Linked DNA regions of Homo sapiens: regions 2, 3 and 4 are each linked to region 1. Evidence: promoter capture Hi-C in human tissues and cell types (Jung and others, 2019). All regions are on one chromosome and are shown on one strand. The core of a region is centred on a gene start or on the middle of the fragment in contact, and the rest is flanking DNA. Distances in the headings are between cores, read along the strand shown.

Region 1 (3,267 bases), core at 578-3,077:
GCGGGGCCCTCACCCGGAGCGCGTCTCCCCGCTCCCCGAGCCCTGCGGAGCAGGTCACGACCTCCCCCCGCCCCCGGGACACCGCTCGGCGCCACAGATCAGCCCTGTCGGTGCCGGGAGGCTGGCCGTGGAACCCAGGTCCTGGGGAGCGCACGAACGCGGACAGCAGCGCTGAGAGGGGTCTCCAGGCGCCCGCGCGCCCGGGGCAGGGGGCTGTGGCTCCAGCAAAGGCGCCGTCCTCCTCCCTCTCGTCCCCTCCGCCCCGAGGCTCGGCTTTCCCACATCCCACAGCAGCCCATCCCCGGGACCCAGAGGGCAAGGGGAGGACCGGGCCGAAGAGCGAGGTCTGGGCAGGGTGAGGTGCCAACTTCTCAGGGGGTCGGGCGCGGCTGGCGAGCCCCGAGCAGGGAGAGGAGAGGGCCGCGCTCGCCGGGGCGCGCGGCTCGCGGGCGCGCAGAGCGAGCGGCGCCGGGAAAGGAGCGAGGGCAGGCGAGCAGGCTGGTGGGAAGGGGCGCGGGCGGCGGGGGCTATCCCCCCCGACTCACCTTGCGTTGGTGCAGTCATTGTAGAGGGTCTCGAAGTCCTTCCTGGAGATGAGTTTGCAGCGGTTCACTCCTGGCTGGATGGCGCCCAGTCCCCTCAGGATGCGAACTTGTTCCACATTGCACACCACCGGCGTGATCTCCAGCCGCTTCAGCTTGGTGTAGACCGTATGCAAGCCCCCCACCAAGTGCTTCAGGAACAGGTCGAAAGCCTGGGGCAGGCAGATCAGCTCGCAGCCCTCCACCGTGAAGGAAGCCACTTTGGCCCCCCTCAGATCCACCATTTTGCACTCATTATTCTGAGGGGTGTTTTCCACTGGGGACGGGGTTGAGTACACGGGTTTCCCGGGGAGGGGGCCGCAGCTGCTGCTGCTACTGCTGCTGCTGCTACTACTGCTGCTGCTGCTGCTGCTGCTACTGCTGCTGCTGCTGCTGCCGGTGCTGGCGTTGATGGGGGTGCTGGAAGCGACGCCGCCGCCAGCGCTGATGCCGCCGCCGCCGCCGCCGCTGCCGTTGCTCGCGGCCGCCAGGTTGGGGTTGCAGTTGCTGCCACCGCCGCCGCCGCCACCGCCGCCTCCGTTGCCGCTGCTGCCGCCGCCGCCTCCGCTGCCGCCGCCGCCGCCGCCGCCGCCGGTAGAGGTGACTGTGGCCGCCGCCGCCGCCGCCGAAGCGATGGGCTCCGGGCGGAACAGAGTTGGCCCAGAGGACGCCGGGGGTCCGATGGAAGGAGCCGGAGACGAAGTCGCCGAAGAGGTGGAGGTGGTGGTGCCAGAGGAGGAAGCAGACGTGGAGATTGGGGGTTGAGGGGGGACCAGCTGGGTCGGAGGGATCAAAGCCGCCGGCACTGCCATGGTCACATATAAGGGGAAACAGACGGAGGAGAAGCGAGAGGAAAAGTTGCCACACACCCCCGGGAGGGGAAGGGGAAAAAAGGGGGGAGAAGGAGCGAGGGGGGCAACAACAACTCCGGGAGAGAACGAGAAGGAGAAAGGGAGAGAAGGGGGAGAAAAGGAGGTGAAGGTAATAAAGAGCGAGCGCAAGAGGGGCGAGCACGAGAGGCGCTCTGGAGAGGAACGCACAAAAGTGTCCCGCAAGTCGAAATGCGAGTCCTCTCCGGGGGCTGGGATCGAGGGCTGGTTTGGGGGTGGGGGTGGGGCGGGGAGGGTCGGCTGTTGTTGTGTGGGTCTCGCTCTAGCACAAAGTTAAGGATGAAGGTGAAAAGGAGGAGGTTTGAAGGACTTGGGCTCTCCCTGGCAAGTACATTGATCAAAGATTGAGAGGGGAATGACAGAGAGAAAATGAGCTGAAAAGTGCAGGCTGCCGGCTGGACGAGTTGTTGTTGTCACACGGTGCAGAGGGGAGGAGCTCCGGAAACTTGAAATACCCTTTGAAGCCGCAAAAACCTCACTCACTAGTATTAACCCAAATTATCCAACCAGGAACTCGGAGCAGAGACTCCGAGAGCGCGAGACACTGGAGAGGGAGCGTGCGAGGAAAGGAGGAGGGGAGGGGGAGGATACGGAAAGAAACTGTGGGAGGGACGGAGAGGAAAAGCCGGGGACACAGAAGTGGCGATCGGAAAAGGAGAGGGAGATCATCTACTTCTCTTCTACTACTACCGTTAGATTGCATGTCTCACATTCCATTTCGTCCGCGGGGACTGGTAATTTTTTCCAAAGCTTCTAAACAATCGCCCGCCAACTTAAAGAGGAGCCTGAGCGCGCCGAGCTCTCTCCTTCCAGGATTTAGGATCCATCTCCACGCGTTTTGGCAATGAGCTAGAAACGAAAACACAGCCCCCACTTCACGATTATTCAGAAATTATTTTGAGGAAAATTCACATGTAAGCAAAGCGTAATGTTCTTTTGCATCTGATTGTTTATTTCTCTACTAAATTATTTATTTATATAAAGATAGTGAAAATTCCAGGACAGTTTTCAAGTGGTGAGAAGAAAGTCAGTCCGAAATCGCTTAAGAATAATGGAAAGCTCTGTATTCAATTCCATATTTCCTAATAGGTTGTGGAAAGAAATGCTTGCCTTGATGTGGATGATTTAGAATAACTTCACTGTCTCCCCAAAAGCCAGTCAGAAATACCTGTTAAACCTAGAGCTATCAAGGAGATAAGGTATCCTTGAAGATTTAGAAAGTGGAAAAAGGGTTTTCTTACCCAAAACTCTATAATTAATTCACCTGTCTTACACAGTAACCAACTATCCTCATGTCCTTTAAGACCCAAAGCCAATTGCTAATGTGTTTTTTGGACAACACAATAGTTTTTTTTTTTTTTTTTTCATGTTTGAAAAGTGCTGCTGTAGTTTTGGAAAGTCCTTTTCAATTTGTCAGTAAATATATGTTTTGTAAATAATGGGAAGAACAAAAACAAAGCTCACTAGTTGACTTGTAAAGACTTGGGTAGCTGTGCTTAAAACAACATGAGGCTGAGTTTAGACTGACTCTATTCCTCCTTTCCTTCCTCTTTCCTTTTCTTTTCTTTTCTAACTTGTTGCACTGAAGTATTTATTCAAGGATTTTTGACTAACATATCATTTGAATATGGGTCAAATCTATTTGCTGCTCATGTCTCCAAGTATCTTCAATTAGTTAGCCTTTGAACCGGTCCACACATGTTCAGTAAGTTCATAAGATATGAAGCAATGCTTTAGCATTTGACAGATTTTTAAAATAAACTGTTAGTAGCAGGTTCACAGGGTTGGGAAATTTT
Region 2 (2,961 bases), core at 56-2,555, 260 kb before region 1:
ATCTAATGTTTTACATGTTTAATATATTTAGTTCACTGAATCAATAATTACATTTTTTAAATATTAAACTTACACTACTCAACATATTCTTCATATCGGGAATATATTCTTAGCTTGAACGATACAACTAATGTATTGTAATATGATATTATATTTGAAAGAAACAAATGAAATAACATGATGTTATTTTTAATATCAAAAGATATGTTCGAGTATGACAAACTTCTATTTATGAAATCACAATAAGATCACTTGGTTTAGTGTGAATAATATACCAAGTTTTAATGAAATAAAATTTAAATAACATAATGAATGAATATACTAAATGTGATAAAATAATGCTTCACAGTGTGAATATTTATAATTGATTACTTTTCATATAATAAAACATGTATGCTTATATCATTTTTAAGCTTTTATCAAAGAATGTTTTCAACAAAAACATTGGCTCACAGCAATTCATTAAAAGAGAAATATTTTATGATATTGTGAAAAATGAAAGATTCTTCCTCTTCAATAAGTCTTACTTTTATTATGAAAATAAAAATATTATAATGTCCTTTTTCTTTCCCCATGCAGAGTCTAGAAAATATGAATTTACAACCACAGAGAAGTGAAGACAGTCTCCCAGATTCTCACCCCGTGTAATTGAAAGTGATTGTTGAACATTGCTGATGAAGACAAAACGCTATGTAATAAACTGAATAATAACTTAGACTCAGTAGGGACTGTGGATGACTTCATTGTGTTTGGTGGCACTTTGCAGCTATCATGTGTTGAACTGGCAGAGTGACTCACCTATCTCACTGAAGCTACACTGTTGTGATACAGTGATCAACAATGGTGTTTCAAATTGGCACTCACTTTTTCTGCTAATCTACTAGAGTACTATTTTTCTGCTAGTACTGTAATAAATGATATTCTAGACTTGCAGTAATGTTTAATACATCACCTTCATTATGCTGCTTAACTATATATTGAATGTATACACACATCTACATCTATTTACAAATATTTTATATAGAGAGGAGAAACAGAATAAAATTGAATGTAAACAATATTTTGTTTAAGCTGTCCATTTTAACACCCTGTTTATTATGTTTCTTACATGATAAGAATTCTTTCTAAATCAGTTTGATAACTGTCAGTTCAATGAATTCACATTTATGAAAAAATATTAGTAGATGTTCATCTTAAAATTATTCTAAGGAAATAAAGAATCTACAATAGAACTATTTTCAAGGATTTCAGAATCTAAAATAGAAGTATTAAATGATTACTGGTATGACAGATATAAAAAATCTTCCTGATAGTTTGAATACAAAGGTATCAGGAGGTAGAATGAGTGTTGAATTTATGTTGTGGAAAATTGGTCCCAAGTTGGTTTTCCACTTCATCAGAAAGCACTTTTCTCTTGTATGCAAACAGTTAATGAAGCATGCCAACACTGAATTGTTTTAACTAGTGTGAGAAATACTTCACCTTTTTCCTCTCTATTTCTTTTGGGAAGTTTTAATATGAACATAGTGAGACACCCTAAATGTTAGATCCCTAACAGGTAGAATGAGGGAATAAAATAGCTATTCATGATTTAAATATTTTCATTTTCATTTATGAATTATTCTCTAGTGAAAGGTAGCAAAAGATCCATCAATTCTGCTGCACTGTAATAAATGTATGATGAGAATGATCTAGTCATTACATTTTCATCCAGAAGCCTACCTTTAGTTTGAGCATTTTGAAGTAGTGAGCCTTTTGATTTAGTTTTTAAAGCCTCTGGCAGGTGGCAAAATTTTGTTCCAACAACACTCATGTGATTGGGAACAAAGGAATTCTTTCAAAAGGTTTGTGGTTTTACCTTTATTCCACTTTCAAAGAAAATGGGATGATCATTTCTTTCATATTAAAATTAAAATAAACATAAGGGACAGGAAAAACTACACATTACAGGATATAATTGCACTTTAAAAAAGAGCTTTTCATAGATTTATTCAGGCTACATTTTATATTTGTAATAACAAGGTGTTCACCTGCATAACTTTTTACAATATGATAATTTAATCCTTACGTTGCATTTCTTCTATTTGATATTTAAAAATTCCTGTTTTAAATTCATGTATACAGGCTTATTATTGTTTTGTATAAAACATTCTACCTTATATGCTATGATCTCAATAAAGACAGTTAGATTGTACAGGTACTAAGCCATGTAACAATTCTAAAATTTTTTTTCAAAGTAACTCAAGGAAATGCATTTCTGATATCGCTGTTACATGGAAAAAAGTAAGTCTTTTAAAAATACTGTGTTAAATGGGCATGACTTTCAAAGCCAAGTGTACCTCTAATCATCAGCAAATGTGAATAAGAATTGTCTCTTAGGAGCTTGTTTATTTGTGTTTTATTTATTGTTTCCCCTTAAAGACCAGTGTGATAGTAGTCTTTGTGTTTTAATACCACCAGGAAAAATTCTCTGGATGAAAGTGACTACTAAGTTATGGTAAACTTATTTCACTGAGCATATACAAAGATTATCATGAGCAACAGCACACATGTTCCTGTTTCTGGGCTGGGACTTTGTGGAGTGTTTAAAACGTGATAAATTGAAAGATACCAACAAAATTCAGACTGCCTGTCAGCTGTATCAGTTTCAAAGGAACAGTGTCATAAAAAATAAAAGTTTTTAAACAATGAGAAATTTTGAAAGTTACTGCATTTATTCCCTCAGTTTAGGAATGAAGATACTGATGCCCAGAACGCTTAAGTGATATGTATTAATTCACAATCATGATACTCTGTAACAATTTCCATATTAATGAGAAAGATGTAGATTATGAATTAGGCATATTAGTAATAGAGATTACAATGTGTATATATATATATATATAAAATGGGTAAGATACACATCCTCATGAATTTATCCTTAAGAGAGATAATGCTGAATTTGCAAGTGAATCTCTTGCA
Region 3 (2,818 bases), core at 177-2,676, 320 kb after region 1:
GTTACTTAAAGAGATACGTAGGAGGGTCACAAGCTCATGCATTTTGTCAAAGTCTATACTCTCACTCCCAGTTTGTCTCAACTCAGTCTGATGAGAAAATTTCATAGCACAGTGTCTGTTATATGGCAACTATTCAGTAAGTGCTATCTGCCTTCTGTAATCATAGTATTACGTGATATTTAAAATAATACAATCTTGGACCTCAAGGGGTAGCAGTTGAAGACAGTGTCTAGAACATAAGACAAAAAAATAAGTGCTATAAATGCCTTGTTGTTAAATATGCAAATATCATGATATAGCAATAGGCCAAATGTTTACAGAAAGCAAAGATTCGACAATAAAATTCCACATTAATAGACAAAGTTTTCCTCCACCTTTTTATTTGGGAAATATATTTAGGGGGCAGTTGAGATTCCAAGGTCTGATTTAATGAAGGTATTAGAAGTTTTATCCATCCCTGGAAAAGGTCTAAGGACTAGTAAAGCCTAACAAAAATTCTGAAATGAAGTATAGTCAATCAAAAAATGGGAACAGACAGAAAAACCTGAGGAATAGAAAAGCTGGGTTACCTCTGCTTGAAATTTACACCGAAGACAGCCTAGAAGCAGAGTGTTCTGGCCTGGGGGCCTCACAGAAGTTATGGAAGACATATAAGGGGGAGAAATTGTCATCAAGATGAGGGTAAAAAGCAATCTGATTGGAAAGCAGCATTATATCCTAAATTGAGAGTAAGGATATATGAGAAGTAGAGAATCTTATTACTAAATGAAAATATTTTAGAAATGCATTTTCTCAAAATGCCAGTGTAATGTCACCATCCATCTTTGTACATCTAAAGTCTCTCATTACTCTCTAAATCCCTGCTATGGCCTTTAAGACCCTGCATGGTCTGGCACCTACCTAACTCTATGGCCTAGAAACAACATTTCTTCTTGCTTCCTGGAAAATGTCATCTCCTTAAGTCAGAGCCTTTATTTGTGCTGCTTCTTTACACCAAAACATCGCTCCTGGTCTTGACAGTATTGTTAACTTGCTGGGCAACCTTGGGCAAGCCACCTCCAGTCTCTGAGCCACAGTGTCTTCATCATTATTAGAGAGAATCGGGTGAGGGCATCTCTAACTTCCTCTCCTGATCAAACATTTTTGAGTCTATGAATATTCAGGAGAATGTTATTAGCATAATACCAGGCTCAGGGAGAAGGGACGGTAATTGACATTTATTAAGAGGCTAGTGTAACACTTCGTTTTGACCTAGTAAGAAAAAAGCATGCTTTGTTTATGGAATTTCCCCGATCGTAGATATTGTAAGGGAGGAAAAGTAAGCATCATAAGAGGTAAAAGTAGATCTAAAAATGTTACCTTTAAAATATTCCTTATTAAAAATATATGTCAGTAAAGAAATCATTTCTAATATAACTGCAAACACTACAGTCATTACCCTTGCCTGTAGTTTGACAAATTGACCCTTTTCTTAAATATTTCTATAACCCTACGTGTTTACTCTGCATGCCTTCTGAAGATCACACCAAACTTCTCAAATTCTTTGGTCCTCCTGTTCCACTGAGTAAAAGATCCTAATTATTTTCAGCTGATTTTCACATATCTGTCTTAAGTCTGTATTTTATTATTTTTCTCCCATTCAGAGATTCCCCGACTTCCTCAATAATGTCAGTTCTCAGAAATGTGGCTTGTGGATGTGAGAAAGGACAGACTCTTGGAAAGAAGGAAGAGAAAAGAAAGCTTACAGAGTCAGCCACCAGGGAAAGCCATCCCCAGAAAGGGGCCAGTCATCACAACTCTAGGTTCATAGAGGTTATGGAAGCGTAGTGAAATATGAGGCAGTTAAGATTGAGGGACTTAGCCCAACACAGTGGCTCATAACTGTAATCCCAGCACTTTGGGAGGCCAAGGTGGGTGGATAGCTTGAACACAGGAGTTCGAGACCAGCCTGGCCAACATGCTAAAACCCCAAATCTACAAAAACAATCCAAAAATTAGCTGGGTTTGGAGGCATGTACCTACAGTCCCTGCTACTCCAGGGGCTGAGGTGGGAGGATCGCTTGAGCCCAGGAGGTTGAGGCTGAAGTTAGCCATCATCACGCCACTGCACTCCAGCCTGGGCAACACAGTGAGACCCTATCTCAAAAAAAAAAAAAAAAAAGATTGAGGGGCTCACTGATCTGGGAGGAACAGACCATGGTTAATTCACTCAGATTTGTAGGCAGATGAGACGCCCTGTTCAAAATCAGGAGCAGAATGGGTGGTGGAAAACCAGGGCTTCCCCTCGAATTGGGGAAAGAGACACCAGAAATGGAGTGGAGGAAAAAAATGTAGGAACATAGCTAAATGGAGCAAAAACAGGAAACTGAGACTGAAACAGAAGATATGGACCCTCTCTCAAAACAAACTGAAGTCACAAGTTCTTCTGTATTTCCTGTCCCCACAGAGATTTTTGTCAGTCTTCCCTTTCCAGCTTTTATACATATTGCAACAAATGTAAACTAAAGATACAAACTGTTAATATAAAATAAATTATTTCATTCCTTTATTTTTGCCAAATATTTTCCTTAAAAATAATGAGTAGTATACATTAACATATGGGATCATTTAATGTAGCCATAATATACAAATGATAATAGCTCTATTAAAATTGTTTAAACTCAGCATTAATTCTGACTTTGAAGTCAGAAGTATTGAGTGCAAATCGAGGGACCCTAAAAACAATATGGGGATCTTCAATGACATATGCAAACATGAATTCATGTATAAGGGTGTTGGGGAAATCAGGCTCTCACTATGGTGACAAGAATCATAAAAC
Region 4 (2,963 bases), core at 127-2,626, 360 kb before region 1:
CATTATTTAAAAATATTTCACAATGAAATCAATTAATCTCTTCGACTATTTGTGTACACTTAACTCAGTTTTAACTTACTGAGAAATCGCAAATTTAGAAACACATATATTTGTTAATTAGATATCTCCTTCCTTCCTTCCTTCCTTCTTTCTTTCTTTCTGGAGTCTTACTCTGTCGCCAGGCTGGAGTGCAGTGGCAAGATCTCGGTTCACTGCAACGTCCGGCTCCGAAGTTCAGGTGATTCCTCAGCCTCAGTGTCCCAAGTAGCTGGAATTACAGGTGTGTGCCACCACGCCCGGCTACTTTTTTGTATTTTAGTAGAGACAGGGTTTCCTCATGTCGTCCAGGATGGTCTCAATCTCCTGGCCTCATGATCCACCCACCTCGGCCTCCCAAAGTACTGGGATTACAGGCGTAAGCCACTGCGCCCAGCCTAAAAATTTTCTTAATAGTATATTTAGAAGGCTTGAGATACATTATATTACTATAGATAAAATAACCATATAAGTCTACTGTTGAAGCAATTTCAAAGTAAAGCAGATTCTGTGTGTGTGTGTGTTTGTGTGTGTATACCTAAATGATTGCACACCACACATACACTTAGTTACATAAGTACATAGGTACATATAGGTATATCATATGTAGAACTCTTCCATATTTAGTAAATCCAATAACTGTTCTGTTCTGTTTCAATTATTAATTTACCTTAAATATCACCAGAAGCTTTAGGCAAATAAATAAGTTTATTTTGTTAGATAATAAGTTATCTTTCATTACTTATTCCTTCTCATATACTAAGATTTCATAAGAATGAAAAAACCAGGTAGAAACTGAAAGTTTTACTATTACTTTCTATATTCTAGTACTTTCCACTTTAGCCTATATACCTAAGATTAACAAATTATAAGTGGCATACAGACTGAAAGGCAATTTCCATAAATGACTTAATATTGACTAAAAATTTAAAAATAATTAAAATATTCAACTTGATTAGAAAGCATTTCACATTTGAATAAGCAAACAAAACATGCAGATTTTGTTCCTTCATCCTCTTGATATAGATTAAAAACTATACTGTTATTTAATGTTATTCTACATTAGAAAAATTTAAATAAATACAACTAAAATGAAATAAATAAAAATATTACATTTACATGCATTTTCAAAACTCACATAAAGCTCTTAAGATTCTTTTTTTTTTTATTATACTTTAAGTTTTAGGGTACATGTGCACATTGTGCAGGTTAGTTACATATGTATACATGTGCCATGCTGGTGTGCTGAACCCACTAACTCGTCATCTAGCATTAGGTATATCTCCCGGTGCTATCCCTCCCCCCTCCCCCCGCCCCACAACAGTCCCCAGAGTGTGATATTCCCCTTCCTGTGTCCATGTGATCTCATTGTTCAATTCCCACCTATGAGTGAGAATATGCGGTGTTTGGTTTTTTGTTCTTGCGATAGTTTACTGAGAATGATGATTTCCAATTTCATCCATGTCCCTACAAAGGACATGAACTCATCATTTTTTATGGCTGCATAGTATTCCATGGTATATATGTGCCACACTTTCTTAATCCAGTCTATCATTGTTGGACATTTGGGTTGGTTCCAAGTTCATATGGAACCAAAAAAGAGCCCGCATCGCCAAGTCAATCCTAAGCCAAAAGAACAAAGCTGGAGGCATCACACTACCTGACTTCAAACTATACTACAAGGCTACAGTAACCAAAGCAGCATGGTACTGGTACCAAAACAGAGATATTGATCAATGGAACAGAACAGAGCCCTCAGAAATAATGCCACATATCTACAACTATCTGATCTTTGATAAACCTGAGAAAAACAAGCAATGGGGAAAGGATTCCCTATTTAATAAATGGTGCTGGGAAAACTGGCTAGCCATATGTAGAAAGCTGAAACTGGATCCCTTCCTTACACCTTATACAAAAATGAATTCAAGATGGATTAAAGACTTAAACGTTAGACCTAAAACCATAAAAACCCTAGAAGAAAACCTAGGCATTACCATTCAGGACATAGGCATGGGCAAGGACTTCATGTCTAAAACACCAAAAGCAATGGCAACAAAAGACAAAATTGACAAATGGGATCTAATTAAACTAAAGAGCTTCTGCACAGCAAAAGAAACTACCATCAGAGTGAACAGGCAACCTACAAAATGGGAGAAAATTTTTGCAACCTACTCATCTTAAGATTCTTATACATCCCCGATCTATCCATGCAGTAGTGACAGGAGATCATTCATATTAGTGTTTCTTCCTTTAAGCTGGGAATCCTCATAAATATAGTATTCTCTGTTGTTTATCTTATAATGTATTCTAAAATCTATTCCCCAACTTTGTTTTTTAGCATAGAAATTCTCCACAGAGAATTTTAATATAGTGCCTCCTATAACAATAACTTCAAAAATCTCATGATACTTTTAAGAAAGTTGTTATTTCCTTCACTAACAAAACTATTTTTACAATTGTTAAATTTAATCATAAATTTAATCAGGAACTTTTTATGAAATGCAATTAACCTTGAAATATGAATACATTTTATTTTGCCAATTAGTTCAGCTGGAAAATTAGACAAATTTGAAACTAGTCACTCTAGAAATATTTATGGATGAATGCCAAATGCAACACTGTATAGAAAATACTCTAACAAAGATAAGACAGAGGAACTGTCACGGCAAGTGAGGACATCTAGTCCATCCTTGGACTGACTACCTGGAAGAGAACAATTATAATTCCAGAATGAAAGATAATCAGGACACAATTCTTACAGCATGGCTAAGGTTTTAATATATGGAGATAATACATAACTTTTGGAAATGTATATAATTTATTATCTCAACCTATTATCAAATTTCTAAACTGAACCTCCACTTTAGGCTTAGTCCTGCCAATGTTAATATATTTTCTAATTGTCTATCATCTATTTATTGCTAACA

Evidence for each region. Contacts are between HindIII fragments. The study calls those that stand out against the background at their distance.
Region 2: a fragment that was not itself captured here is called in contact with the fragment with the promoter of DACH1 in region 1 in 1 of the 25 tissues and cell types used here (spleen).
Region 3: a fragment that was not itself captured here is called in contact with the fragment with the promoter of DACH1 in region 1 in 1 of the 25 tissues and cell types used here (dorsolateral prefrontal cortex).
Region 4: a fragment that was not itself captured here is called in contact with the fragment with the promoter of DACH1 in region 1 in 1 of the 25 tissues and cell types used here (dorsolateral prefrontal cortex).

What each region holds. Positions count from the first base shown.
Region 1 is chr13:71,865,377-71,868,643 of GRCh38, forward strand. It overlaps DACH1 (dachshund family transcription factor 1), which reads right to left and starts at 1,828. Exons shown (of 11, transcript NM_080759.6): 1 at 546-1,828. The coding sequence starts at 1,393. The HindIII fragment of the contact is 6,446 bases long and covers 1-3,267 here.
Region 2 is chr13:71,605,193-71,608,153 of GRCh38, forward strand. The region is part of intron 3 of DACH1 (dachshund family transcription factor 1); the gene reads right to left. Among named protein-coding and RNA genes, the nearest start is that of DACH1, 260 kb to the right of the region's middle. The HindIII fragment of the contact is 3,324 bases long and covers 1-2,961 here.
Region 3 is chr13:72,187,338-72,190,155 of GRCh38, forward strand. No RefSeq gene overlaps it. Among named protein-coding and RNA genes, the nearest start is that of DACH1, 320 kb to the left of the region's middle. The HindIII fragment of the contact is 3,433 bases long and covers 1-2,818 here.
Region 4 is chr13:71,504,946-71,507,908 of GRCh38, forward strand. All of the region lies in intron 6 of DACH1 (dachshund family transcription factor 1), which reads right to left. Among named protein-coding and RNA genes, the nearest start is that of DACH1, 360 kb to the right of the region's middle. The HindIII fragment of the contact is 3,228 bases long and covers 1-2,963 here.